Regions from separate parts of the Homo sapiens genome. Here region 2 is linked to region 1. The links are contacts of gene promoters, found by promoter capture Hi-C in human tissues and cell types (Jung and others, 2019). All regions are on one chromosome and are shown on one strand. The core of a region is centred on a gene start or on the middle of the fragment in contact, and the rest is flanking DNA. Distances in the headings are between cores, read along the strand shown.

What was found. Contacts are between HindIII fragments. The study calls those that stand out against the background at their distance.
Region 2: a fragment that was not itself captured here is called in contact with the fragment with the promoter of PLCB4 in region 1 in 1 of the 25 tissues and cell types used here (H1 embryonic stem cells).

Annotation. Positions count from the first base shown.
Region 1 is chr20:9,067,837-9,070,617 of GRCh38, reverse strand. PLCB4 (phospholipase C beta 4) reads right to left here and starts at 1,531. Exons shown (of 40, transcript NM_001377142.1): 1 at 1,412-1,531. The HindIII fragment of the contact is 12,704 bases long and covers 1-2,781 here.
Region 2 is chr20:9,109,326-9,112,106 of GRCh38, reverse strand. The region is part of intron 2 of PLCB4 (phospholipase C beta 4); the gene reads right to left. Among named protein-coding and RNA genes, the nearest start is that of PLCB4, 42 kb to the right of the region's middle. The HindIII fragment of the contact is 6,369 bases long and covers 1-2,781 here.

The DNA of each region.
Region 1 (2,781 bases), core at 282-2,781:
ATCATTTATTAAACTACTACAGTTCAAAAGGAAGATGATATAATAGATCAATACACCAGCTAAGGATCATGCAAGACTGTCCTATGAAAAACAGCATTCTGGATTACATAACACAGATAGTGAGGGATTACACCACATGCCCCTGCTGAGCTAGACTTTTGATCTTCTGTATGATTCTATAACTGAGGCCACTCAAATTTGAAGAGTATAAAATATGAGGGTCTCAGTTCAACCACACATTTCTGAAAACAGCCGTCTTGAAAACAATAAAAGAATAAAGTTAAAATTTTACCTTCCCCCGCAACACACACACAATTTTTCTATTCTGAAAAACACAGTTGTTCAGATACTTTCTTAACCTCCTTGGAGCCTCCCCAGGTAAAGTCACCAGTTGCTTTTCCTGGTCATGTTTACATTATAAATCTGATTTCTCTTTAAGGGGAAATTCAATATCATTTTAAAATGATACATAGCTGCCTATGTTTGAATAACGTTATTTCCAGACAAAAAGAATTATTAAACAGCTATCTCCACATACCTATAACTTAAATATATAGACCACTAAGTATTACGTATATGGAAAAAAAAACACCTTTCCTGAATATTCTGGCCAAAATTAAATTTCAAATACATGTTTTAGAACAATAGCTAGAATCACTACAGAAGTTAAGAGGAAAAAAAGTTGGAAGAGTAGGGTCATCTTTCAGATATATCCATATTTATGGAAACTATAGTGGGCAGTTGTATTTCTCTCTAGGAAAATGCTAGTTTTATGATTCTAGATAAAGTTGCACTTAAACACACTTGGAAATTAGAGAATTCCATATTTCCATACTTCGATTCAGTACCATATACGAAGTCTACACTCAGAAGTATTGTACTATACAGAGTCTAATTGGTTAAAGCAAAAGCAACTTTAAAATTCTGAAAATAAGGATTTCCTTCACTAACAGGCTTTTAGGAGGCCCGAACCCTGCCCCCAATGAGTGCTAAGCCTGTCAGTGTTGTTTTAAGTGGAAACGGTCAATCATTTCTATGATTTCCCCAGAAGAGGCAAGAAGATCCACACGCATACACATTTACATGCGTTGCACGGTGCCAACTATTTCCAACCAAAATAATCATATACACGTCGAGCCGAGCTATTTCTAGCCCAGAAGAGGGTGAACGTCTGGAGAGAGTCTGAGGAAACCCAGCAGGCGATGACTGCAGGGGAAGGGGGATGGCGTCTGGGTCCCCTGCCTCCCGCGCGCACAGGGCGCCTGGCACCCGGCACCTGCACGGGGTCCCCGCTGGGCATCCGGGTGCGCGCGCGCGCGCGTCCGGGACGCACCCGCGGAAAGCAAACAAGCCCTGAGGGCCAAGGCGGGCGGGAGCATCCTCGGGCGGGACCCGAAATGCCTTTTCCTACCTGTCACTTTGCCTGGAGCTGCTGCCGGGGATGCGGCGACGGCCGCTGCCTGGAGACCCAGTGTGTACGCGCGTGTGTGTGCGCGCCCGTGTGTGCGTGTGCGTGTGTGTGTCTGTGTGTGAGAGATCTTGTTGGCGGTGCAGCTCACTTACTGCTCCCGGCGCGGCGCCACCACCCCCTCCTCGCCATAAAGAGCCGCCGCCAAGCCCCCTCCCGGCGCACCCCAGTCCCGCCCTCCCGCCTGCCTCCGCACCCCCTCCCTGGCCTCCCCGCCTCCCCGTCTCCGCGCCGCGCGGTCCTTACCTCAGTTGAGGGCGGGGGTCTCCGCCGTGGCTCCCCAGCGAGCCCACGGGGCAGCGCCGACCCGCCCGCCCACCGCCGGGCCCTGCGCGTCCCCCGCTCCGGGCCCCGCCGCCCCTCAGCGGCCAGCCGCTTCCTCCTCCCCTGCCCCCGAGCCTCCCTCCTCGTTCTCGCCTCCCGGCTCCAGAGCCCGAGCTGTCGCCTCGCAGCCCCAACCTGCCCAGGCTACGGAGCATGCCCAGTGCGGCGCGCCGGGCTGGGCTGGGGGTGGGCAGGGGCCGGGCCGGCCGCCCAGTTGCCGCGAGCCCGCAGGGCGAGGAGTGGGCGCCGACTGGGTCGGGGGCGCAGCCTCGCGAGCCGGGGGCCGAGCAGCCGAGGCAGGTGGTGGGCAGCGCCAAGAGGAGGTGGGTGGGGCATCCGGGGAAGCCGGCCCGCGGCGCGCTCCTCTGGGGTCTCCCTGGCGGCTCCCCGCGGCATGTGCCCCATGCCCAAGGGTCGGGGGCGCACGGGATGGCGCTGGGCGCAGAACCCAGGGAGCGGGGGCAGAAAAGCGGCACCCTCCTCGGATGGGAGACCCGCAGCCCGCCGTGGGCCGTGTGGAGGGGCTCAGGACTGGCCAGAACGGGGCCCCCAAAGCCGTTGGCTGGGTGGGGGACGTGCTTATTTGTTTATATTCGGTTTCATAAACCCATACAGCGCCTACAATGCGTCCTGCAGTGTTCTAAACGCTTTTTATTCATTTAATCCCTAAAACAATCTTCCAAAGAGTACTACTGCCTCTTTTTATTTCGCGGGTCTTACACAGAGCCACAGAGATTAAGTGGTTCCAAAAAGTCTTCCCACAAGTGCAACCTCAGACATGCAAATCCCCCAGACTTTGGTCCCTGGGATGCTGGGGTGCTGCTCCAGCCAGTTCCTGGCTTTTCCCGGCCCTACAACGGCCCCCAGGTGCCTCCGAGTCACACTCACACCCAGGCCCTAATGGTGTTCGGTCTGGCATCACCCTTGTGTGGACCCTCACAACGTGCTGCTCCCGAACTCCGGAGGGCTCCCTCCTCCCCACTCCGCCT
Region 2 (2,781 bases), core at 194-2,693, 42 kb before region 1:
AGGATATTTTTGTGATAATGAAAGTAAAGCACAGGTAAAGGGACTATCCAAAATAAAGATCCATTTTTTTAATTTGGTCTAAATGTAAGGCATATTTGTCTTTGCTTTTAATTTTAGAAAAATTTTAGGTAATGAGCCTTGAAAAAAGGTGATAGTAATACTTCCACTAGTGGACTTTAAGACACATTAAATACATACTTCTATATACTTCATAGTGGAAAAAATACTTTGAGAAGGCAATATCCCATTTTAAATCAAAGTAATTATTTCTGTATGGAAGAAAATCCCTATGTTTTATGAGAGTTACTTGGAGCAGGCCATTCGTCTCAAAGAGGCTATTTTTATAATACAATAAATAAAATATTCTTAAATGAACTGCCCATCAATGGGAGAAAATTATCCATTTGTGTTAAAAGAAGTCTATTTTTGTCAGGTCTTTCCAAAGCAAACAAATTAGCAGTGGCTTTGGGAACTGTGAATCCACAGCCTCAACAGCAGTTGTCCAAAATTAAAGGTTTGTCAGAATGGGTGGGTGGAAGATGGAAACATTTCAAATGAGTATAAACATTTTATAACCCAGACAGAACCTTTCAAGAGTATCCCCACAGACTGAAATGATCTGTCACCTGGGCTAGGCCCCAGCTTCATAAATGGAACTTTCATAAATGGAATATTTTCAAAAATAACAATGAGAGAAAGCAACTCTTTGAAAAACAGATTTAAAGTAGAAAACATTCATAATATATTAAGTAGGAAAAGGAGGTTACAAAAGCATGAGATCTCAATTTCGTAAAACAAACAAAAACCAAATAAGATCCACACTGCCATCTGAAGAACACCACATTACAACATTAGTGGGTGCAGGGCCAAAGCCAGTTCTCTGTCCAATAACTTCCAGGCTTTGCCCAATGTACCTTCCCAAGTAGAGAAGAGTCATAGAGCCCTTTCAGGAAGCTCATCCCTGAGGGGGGTGTCTGTGACAAATCTAAGTCTAACATCGTTCAATCTGGCATTTTCCCAAACGTATATGACATGGAAAGTTTCCCAATGTCCCCAGTGACCCAGAACACCTATTAACATTCTTAGCAGCTCACCTTGGAAACAGTTTGAATAATAAATTGAATACCTGCTTAATGAATACAAGTAGTCAAAAAAATTGATGAAAGACCAAAAAGAACAACAGTACAATATCAAAAGTGGTGATTTGTGGGTTGTAGGATTTTGGATTATATTAATTTTCCAAATTTTCTATAACAAACATATTACCTTCATGATTATGAAAAAAAATACAGTATTTTACGATGCCTAAAGGGCTACACTGTTCATCTTCCTCTAAACTATTCATTGGTGAAGAGGACATTTGGTACTTCAAATGCCAACACACTAAGTTGGAGAAAAGGAGAAAGATCTGGCAATCTGTAGATTGCCACATGTAGACCATCTATAAAAGGCCAGCTATAAAAGAAACGTAGTCAGCTTAAATACTGTTCTCAGATTTCTGGTGTCCTATGAAAATAAATGAAGCAAGGAGTCCAGCCCTGGCAAAAGATGAAGGAGAACCTCAGCCTCACTAATTTCCTGTTTATTCTCTCAGATGCCAACCATTACACAGCAGCCTTTGGGAGAAATGTAAAATGTGTAGAGATAATCTAAACACTGTTTAGTCTTTTTATTTCCCCCACAAAAGACAGTGTAAATAGAGGAGAAATGATAGCTTACAAGACATTTTTATGAATCTGAGACAATAATGTATATGTCCATTGAAAGATGTTTAAATCCTATGTTTTAAAGATTCATATTTCATTGAAATAAATGCTAATCAGTGTAAGTTGTTATTTTCCATCAAAAATATATTTTTGGCATTTCTTCTTCAACTTTAATTTTTATTATATGTTTTAAAAAAAAAACAATTCCAGACAATATGGCTGAAAGGCTATGTTAGCCTTGACCTGTGCATTCATTTTCTATGCGGAGTTTCAAAACGTTCTACAAATTAACACTTTGCAAAAAATAGTTGAGTACTGTTTAGTAAAATACCCATTGCTTAATAATAATAATTTTAAAAAACTCTACTAACCTTCTCTGTGGGAACTTGTCCATAAACTTGAATAACAGATTCACAGAACATCAGGGCTAGAAGAAAGCTAAACTGGGCCTCCATACCCTTGACTCCCAATACTGAGGCCTGAATTGGTTAAGTGCCTCCCTCCAGGTCACACAGCTACTTAGGGACAACACAAAGCCAGATGACAATTTCCAGAAGACTGAGATTTTGAAGCTGTAACTGAAAACTCCCTGAGTTAATTAAGACAATGACTGCAGTTCAGTCCTGGCAAGAAAAAAAGGATAATATTTATGTGAGAACGAACTTAGTCCATCTGTGGCTGGCACACAAATCTTTCCCTTCACTATATTAGGCTTTCACTTTAACTTGTTCTGCCTGTCTTCCAAACAATTTTTGACTGATATCAGAAAACAAAAATCCTCCTGTTATTTCATGAGCCCAGCTTTTATAATTTGATAAGCACTAGAATATGTGTATTGTAGGTAAGTTGCAGAGGGGTGGTGGTAGGGAGTAGGGGAAAGGTTTATTAAATCAAGAAGCTATCATTTTAGGCCATTACGAAAAAAAAAAAAGCAATCATTTTATTTATTTCCCACACTCATGCATTACAATCCCACATGAATTGCCTACCAGTGAAAATTGTGAGATTCTCCTTCTCAAATAGGGAGACTGCTAAAATTCTATTTTAAAGTTTTATTGATATTTTTATTCATAAT